2 separate regions of the Homo sapiens genome follow, and region 1 is linked to region 2. Evidence: promoter capture Hi-C in 16 types of primary human blood cells and fetal thymus (Javierre and others, 2016). All regions are on one chromosome and are shown on one strand. Each heading gives the region's core, a stretch centred on a gene start or on the middle of the fragment in contact. The rest is flanking DNA. Distances are from core to core; before and after follow the strand shown. Region 1 has its middle 62 kb from the start of CD200R1L. Region 2 holds the start of CD200R1L-AS1 (CD200R1L antisense RNA 1).

Evidence for each region. Contacts are between HindIII fragments. The CHiCAGO score rates a contact against its expected background, and 5 or more counts as called.
Region 1: a fragment that was not itself captured here is called in contact with the fragment with the promoter of CD200R1L-AS1 in region 2 in 2 of 17 cell types (naive B cells and M2 macrophages); the score reaches 5.3 in naive B cells.

The regions. Positions count from the first base shown.
Region 1 is chr3:112,906,269-112,910,591 of GRCh38, forward strand. No RefSeq gene overlaps it. Among named protein-coding and RNA genes, the nearest start is that of CD200R1L, 62 kb to the left of the region's middle. The HindIII fragment of the contact is 2,618 bases long and covers 1,503-4,120 here.
Region 2 is chr3:112,799,407-112,803,770 of GRCh38, forward strand. CD200R1L-AS1 (CD200R1L antisense RNA 1) reads left to right here and starts at 3,072. Exons shown (of 3, transcript NR_149027.1): 1 at 3,072-3,242. The HindIII fragment of the contact is 7,448 bases long and covers 1-4,216 here.

The DNA of each region.
Region 1 (4,323 bases), core at 1,562-4,061, 110 kb after region 2:
ATTTATCATTACCTTATTTTTGTATCAACATGGTACCTTTTTTAAGGAACAAGGTCTCACTATGTCATCTAGGCTTTAGTGGAGTGGCACAATCATAGCTCATGTAACCTTCAACTCCTGGTTTCAAGCAATCCTCTCACCTCAGCCTCCCAAGTAACTAGGCTACAGGTATGGTAGCCATTATGCTCAGCTAATTCTTTTATTTTTATTTTTTTATTTTAATTCTTTTATTTTTATTTTTTATAAAGATGGGGTCTTGTTATGTTGCCCAGGCTGGTCTCAAACACCTGGCCTCAAGCAATCCATTGGTCCTGGCCTTCCAAAATGTTGAGATTACAGATGTGAGCCAATGTACCCAGCCCAATATGATACATCTTAATTAACACAATGTTATCTATCCTTTCTCCTTTCTTTGCTTCCTGTACTAGATGCAGACAAGTTCAGAGATGAAGGCAGGTATTCAAGTGGAGGATTTTAAAAGAAATTCACTATAAAATTCTGGGAGTTACAGGTACAAGAATTAGTAAGCTAATCATGGTCTTGTTTTTACTCTGACAGCTTTGCTACAGTCACTGCGTTCTCCACAAATGGAACTATGTACAGAATTTATGACAACTAAAGTGAATTTCCTGAGAAATGTAATTTTGGAGAAATTGAAGGATTTATGAAGAGATGATACTAACAGAGGCATAGCAATGTTGCATTTGAACTGATATAACAAGCTGATTATGAAGAGGCATAGTGGAAGAAAATGATATTCAGGGGAATAATAAAAAGTCATCTGTGACCAACTAAGTTGGTCTGAGTTCCACTTTAAATTTATTTCCAGAAATCTTTACTCTCCTGCTCCAATCCTGACTGGTTGCTTCCTATTTCCATTTTATGATTTCTTATTCTGGCACTTTCTTTTGATATTTACCTGGGAAATCTCCTCAGCTGTCTTCTCTATTGAAGCCCATGTTTCCAGAATCCTAGCTTCTTTACTGGTTTTCTCCTTATTTGAGAGTTTACATGCCTGAAATTTTCTTTGAATCTGTAGCATATTCGCAAGGGTCATTCAGTTTCTGCCTTGAAAGTTGCTCAAAATCTTGTCCCAAGAGGTATGTGTGCCTATCTGGGGTATTTGGGGACCTGGACAGGGAATGAGGGCTGGCAGGGATTGGGGGTGTATTTCTCTGGTAAATATATAGATTCCACTTAATCCACCTATTTTCAGCCCCATATCTCCTCTTGAATCTTTCTGTTCCCATTGTCTGTAAGACTAAATTCTTTGTGATTCATGTTCTATAGGGAATAAATCTAAAATCTGAGAATTTGGAAGGGAATGTTGAGACTTTTCAGGGTCTAACCACCTCTTACACAGAATTTCAAACAATTCTCTTAATTCCAGACCTGGGCTTTGCACTCACTTTCTGCAAAACCCAATTCTTGAGCCTTTGCAGCTTGGTTCTGTTTCCTCCTGAAGAAACACGTTCAGCTTCCTCTATTCTCCTGGGTGATCAAGCTTTCCATCCTCCAAAATACGTTAATGTTTCCTAACCCCCTGTGTCTTCTCTCCTGACATTTTGATTCCTTTAGGCCTATATGTTTTAAATATTATTATTGTCATATTAATAGCCATTCAGGAGAGAATAGACACGATACATCTATTCAATTCACCATGTCAAACTAGAAATCTCCATTTTTATTTAAAATCCTGTGGCATTTTTTTATTTTTTTATTAAGAAATGTTTTTTCAAAGATAATTTTGGCAGAAATATAAGTAATTAAGACATTATCTTTCTTTTTTAAAACATAGTGATTAAAATAAAGTAGCATTTTCACTCTTTGAGCTATTTTAAACTGAGCATTTTAAAGGACTAGTGGAAAAGCTCTAGTGGAAAAATATTCTAATGTATTTTTCTAATTATGGTTTCCTCTCTACTTCGCCCAATACCCCTCAGCATCCCCGCAACTTGGCCAACAGACTCACCAGCTATGAAAAAAAATGTGAACAGTATCCCAAAAGCTGAAGCCATCTTCCAAAGGGAGTTATTTCTATTTTTTTTTTCTTATCTTTGCCTCTATGTTTTCTTCCACTGTATAATAGGCCTAGTTATGGTATTTTACTTCTCTTGCTCTGCTCCATTAGCACTGGTGAGAAATCCCCTGCTCTCTTAGATGGTTGTATTTTTGGCTCATGAGCAACTTAAATAGAAGCATTTCCTGTTTGCACAGTTGAGGTGATAATGACTGAATTTTCTGGTTTGTGCTTTTATACATTTACTTATTTCAAGAGAAGCATGTATATTTGACCCAGGATTCAGATCCAATTGTAATTGATTGAGCTATGTCCCAGATACTGTCAGAATGATTCTTATGAGGCATGTATAGTTATATTTATTTTTATAGATAAGGAAGTAGAGATTCGAAAAGGTTAAGAAACTTATCCTAAGTCAATTAATGATACGGTAGAAGAATAACCAGCATAGAAAGAAAGACCTTTTCATAAGTAATTTTCCTTATCTTCTACTGCATTTTGTATGTGTGTCTATGTATATTTTTTGGTATTTTGTTGTGTGGCTTATGAGAGGAGTTACACACAATCTCTCCTTCCAGGGATATGCACTTTAACATAGAAATCACTGAGGCAGAAAGTATTTAAAAGTAACATGCTCAAAAAGATCATAATACAAATAATTCTTCACCTAAATTATTGTATTAGCCTCTTCTACTTCATAATATTTACTTAATATCTCTTTTCATCTCTGTTCAGTTTGTTTTTTTTGGCTAAAGCAATTTAGGATATGCTCTTTCCTTCTGCAAACTCAGGGTTGCTACATGGGTTGCAAAGGTAAAGATAAAGAGTGCTGACCAGTAGGCTGAAGTTTCTGCCCATAAATTCTCCTTACATCTTCCTGACCACACAATAATCCTGCCCTTGGATTTTCCTGTGCGTTCTCCCCACCCACTTCCAGTGGTTCATACTGGTTTCAGTTTGGCTAGACAAAAAGAATGGTTAGTGATAACTTTGTATGAAAAAGATGGATATAATTGTGCACATTTGTTAACTTTCTATACTACAGAGTTATCACCAGGATCAGATTCTTGTCTCCAGATAGATAATTCCTCAACACATTTGAAGGTGAATTTGGGATTTTTAGTGAAATAACAAAGAAATTCTATCCTCTATTTCTTGCCCACCCTCTATTTTGAGTTGATTTTTGTGTAGGCCATAAGATAGGGCCCAATTTTATTCTTTTGCCTAGGGTTATTCAGTTTCCCCAATATCAATTGTCAAAGAGACTGTTCTGTCCCCATTGTGTATTTTTGGAATCCTAGTTGAAGATCAGTTGACTATATATGCATGAATTTATTTCTGGGATCTCTATTCTGTTATGCTGGTCTATAGATGTCTTTATGCCAGTAGCATACTGTTTTAATTACTGTAGCCTGGTAGTATATTTTGATATAAGGAAGTGTAATGCCTCCAAGTTTATTCTTGGCTGTTTAAGGTCTTTTATGGTTTCATATGAATTTTATAATTGATTTTCTATTTCTGTAAAAATGTCATGGAATTTTGATAAGAATTGAATTGAATCTGTAGATCTTTGTAGTGTCTTAGCCTATTTTGCTGCTATGACAAAATACCACAGACTGAGTAATTTGCAAACAAAAGAAATTTATTTCTCACAGCTCTGAAGGCTGAGAACTTCAAGATCAAGGCACCAGTAGACTCAGTGTCTTATGAGTGCTACTATTTGCTTCAAAGACGATGCCTTCTTGCTAAATCCTCTGCAGAGTAAGTATGTTGTGTCTTCACATGACAGAAGGGACAAAGGGGGTCCCTGTCTGCCTCTTTATTAAGTCAGTAGTTCATTCATGAGGGTGAAGCCTTTATAGCTTAATCACTTCTGAGGGGCCCCCCTCTTAATGCTGTTGCATTGAGCATTAAGTTTCAACAAGAATTTTGGAGGGAACACAAACATGAAAACCATAACAGGTAGTATAAACATTGTAACAATATTAAGCCTTCCAATCCATGAACACAGAATGTCTTTCCATTTGTTTGTGTCTTCATTAATTTCTTTCATCAATGTTTTGTAATTTTCAGTGAACAAGTATTTCACTTGCTTAGTTAAGCTTATTCACAAGTATTTTTTGATGCTAATGTAAATAGGATTGTTTTCCTCATTTCCTTTACAGATAGTTTATTAGTATATAGAAATGCAACTGATTTTTGTATGTTGATGAAAATTCATAAATATGTGGAAATTAAATAATGCATTTTCAAACAAGTGGGTCAAAAAAAAATCAAAAGGGGATATAAAAAACACCTGACAC
Region 2 (4,364 bases), core at 1,822-4,321:
GTAAACACCCATAAACAATGTTTTCATCATTCATACAAGTTAGCAGTCTAGGAAAGTAGTCTGTTATTATTCTCTTTCTTGCTCTTTTTTTCTCTAAGATGTCTGCCATTTTCAAATTTGCCCTGTAACTATATTCTTTCAAATTCCCTTTCCTGAGGTTTATGGTGACATGCATCCTAATTCACTGTTAGACAGTCAATTTGCTAGTTATTTTTAAATGTAGAAAAAAAGAAAAATATTAAAATGTTCTACTTATTCATGGTTCTTACTCCCTTAAAAGCACTAGTGGAGGTCATTAAGACCATTACCTCAGAGTGCTCAGACATTACTAAAACAAATTACTCTGGGTCAGTATAAGGAGAGCCTTAACACTCATTCCAGTAGAGGAGGTTAGGAGGCCCCCTGAGAAGAAGCGAAAGAATGGATCTCTTGTTGGCTCACACATGACATTATTTAGAAATGGTTTGTTTTTCTAATATGACCAGATGGCTCCCAGCCACATATAAAAACACTCCAAGCTACACTGATTCGCTTGACAAGTGTCCTACAAAATGCAGTTAACCTAGACTGAAGGGCATGTGTCTATTTGGGGGTAAACCTTATTCAAGGTTTGTATTGTCTGCTGATGAGAGCTCTTCCTTGAGAATATTAAAATACCAATGTTAGAAGGAAAAGCACTTAGTTGAGCCAGAAGTTGTAGGTTTGCATATTTACTCCACTACTTCCTGGTGAGGTGGCATGAGTAAACTGTTTAGTTTCTAGGCCTCCCTTTCTTCATTTGTGAAGCAGGGATTATAATACTGTAACTCACAGAGTTCTGATAAGATTTAAGGGAATATTATGAATGACTCTGGAATGGAGCCAGATGCCTAGGAAGCACTCAAAGATATTAGGTAAAATATCAGCTGACAGTAGATCAACTTGGACATGTGTCTTCAAATTTTATATCCAAATTTCAAGATGGTAGGGGACATAATGGAAGAGAAAAAAGTTTTAGATTTTCAGCCAAGGAAAAAACGAAATTGAACTTGCTACTGGCTGGGTGGCTCTGAACAAATTTCTCACCTTTTCTGAGTCTTATTTATTTATTTTTTTTGTAGGTACATAGTAGCTGTATATATTTATGAGATACATGAGATGTTTTGATAGAATTCTTGCAATGTGACATAATGAGTCTTATTTTCCTAATGTACAAAATGGGGCATCATAGTATCTTCTCTCTCTACTTTCTAGGATTGTTGAAGGCTAACAAATTTCATCTTTGTGTATCCCCAACCTTCACATTCTGCATGCTTTCTGTCTCTAAAAGTAATTACCATTGTTAAGCATGTATTTGTGTTTTCTCAAATTACTAACTTCTGATGGAATAGATAGTCTTTTAAAAATTCAGTGGAAGAATTCTAGCTGGGCTTTGGAATTCTAGTCTTCTCTAAGAGAGCACTTTATATGTAAAGGCAAACAGCAACTCCACAACAGTACACTAGTAACAGTAATGATTAGGATAATTATTTCTCTGGAGAAACACCACTGTCTTCTGTGACTTTATGCTTGCAAGTTCAATCAGATGAAACAATTCCATAATAGTTTAAATCCCAGAACTACCTTTACTCAGAATCTGAGTAACAGTTTCTGAATACTCTAGAAATCAAATGTTATAGCCACTTGGCTGCATTGTTGGGTAAATCAAAAGATAAGGCCTGTAATAGCCTGAGTTCTTGAAGGGTTCACACTCAGTGAGTTGCGTGGTATTCTAGCACATGGGGTATGCATGGAAATTTACATAATGTGGCTTGGAGGAAAATAATTCTTGTTAGATTTTAGTTTGGCTGAATGGGAAATAGCCAACTTTATTGTCTTATCTCCCTTTAAAAAACAAACAAAAAAAATTTCTTTAATGTTTATGTTATACATGAATACAATCTCACTAAAAAAATAAGTTCTATGGATAAAGTTTATGTCTCCTTAATCACTACTCCCCTTCTTAAAGGTGACTACTATTACCAGTTCACTGTGCATCCTTCCAGAACTCTTTTCTCTGAATTTCTTAGCACATATGTGTGCTATAGAGCTATATAGTTTCACAAGTGTGTATTTGTACATAAATAATACAAATTATTCTATGACTAGCTTTTTACTCTACAGTGTGTATTAAGGGGGAATTCCATGCCAGTTTGCAGATAGCCACCTCATTCTTTGTAACTGTTGTATACCACTCTGTAGCATGAATGTGCTACTTTTTTTTTTTTTTTTTTTTAAGACAAGGTCTCCCTCTGTCACCCAGGCTGGAGTGCAGTGGCGCGACCTAGGCTCACTGCAACCTCCGCCTCCTGAGTTCAAGCAGTTCTTCTGCTTTAGCCTCCCCAGTAGCTAGGATTATAGACACCATGCCACCACAGCCTGGCTAATTTTTGTATTTTTAGTAGAGATGGGTTTCATCATGTTGGTCAGGCTGGAATGTGCTACCTTTTGTTTAACCACCTTCCTACTGAGTTACAAGTGAGTCATTTCAAATATTTTGCTCTTATAGATACTGTTGCAATGAATATATTTGTTCATACCTTCTTAGGTACATGTGTAGATATGAAAAAAGTAATTACTGATCTTAGGATATACACATTAAAAGCTATAACCCTAACAAATTACCTTTCCACATGCCTGTCCCAGTTTATTCCCTCATCAGCAGTGCATCATGGAACCCATTTCCCTGTACTTTCACCAAGATTTGATAGCAAATATTTCATTTTTGCTTAATGAGAACAAAATGTTATCTTATTGTGGCTTTTATTTGTATTTATTAGATTAGTAGAAATATATATTACCTTTTCATGAGTGTATTGCTTATGTGTATTTTTCTTCAATAAACTACCTGTCAATATATACATAAGTCTTCTCTAGACTTTATTCTTTGAATCTATTTGCATTTTCCTGCATAGATGCCACATTTGCTTAATTACTCTAGCTTTTTAATATGCTTTAATATCTTGGGAAGGGGACTTTTTTCCATCTGTATAGACCATTTTACTTGCAAATTACTTACACAAGGAAATATCTAATCTCACATTACACTTGTCACCAAATGATAGACACTAATCTCCATTTCTTAGAAATGAGGAAATAAAACCACAAAATGTACAAAGTCAGATCTAAAACCCCTACCTTTGGGTCCAGACTTTTCTTCTAAAGTTCTGCAGTTATACCCAGATGCCACAGAAACATAGGATCTTAGAGGAGAAGTAACTTAGGTAAGATTATCTAATCTAAACTCCTCCTTTTACAGATGAGTAAATTAAGGTGTGGGAAAGCTAAGTACCTAAAACCTAGCATTAGAACACAGATCTTCTGGTTTTTGGTCAGTTAGGTTTCTATAATGGCAGTATTTCATTAACAAATTCTAGTGGGTTTTTTTCCCTATCACTGTCCTGAAAGAGGAAAAAAATTTAGAACCATTGTCAGACCTTTAGTTTTTTTCAGTTTTTTAATTATGAAATAAAGGGAAATAAATTGTTAAAGTTGAGACTGGGCACATACGAGTTCAAACTCAAGAGTCTTTTATATGTTTATACCAACTCTGTGGGAGAGACAGGGGGAATAAAAGCATTCTCAGTTACAATAATGAATATATTCTGTTTATCCACTGCCCACCTCCTGGATGTCTCAAGCATTTCATGGATGGTGCTGCATCTGTAAGCGAGGATGGACAAATGTGTCCAGAACAAGCAGTTGTAACTATTGTGAGGCCCCATCTGGAACAGAAGGTGATTCAATCTCTTCCTTTGATTGGAATCTTTCATACTTTATTTTTCAGCATTCTGAGCTAGGAAACATGTGAATACTGAATTTCAACAGCTATCTCATTTCACCTGATAGTACTTTTCTTTGCCTAGGCAAAGGAACAGAACAGTTTAACCTGCATCACAAACTTCAAAAGAGTTGTAGCTACTCCTGGAAAGAGAGAGATAGGAGGCTGCCCATGCTTCAACATCCTCTGGATTTTGAGCCAGAATGAAAACAAGAAGAAAACAACACTTGAAGTTCTGACTTAGTCTGGGCCCACAGTCTCAGATCCTTTGAGTTACACAGCAGGAAGGAAAGAGTCCCCTATGGGGTCATGAACCACATCGTCTGATTGAATAATTGGTGCTTATTTCTGGGTCCTCAACTTGGCCATCTAACAGCTTGCATGTGCTCCATTTATAGTCCTCAGGCAAATTCTTTAAGCTTTTGGGTTGCATTTTTCATTTCCATTGGTTATAAATAATAGGTCAGGACAGATGTCTTTAATAGCCTAAGATCTAAAACATATGTTTGTGCAATGAGACCACAGAGGTAGAACTATAGAACCTGAAGCCAATTTTATTTTTAGA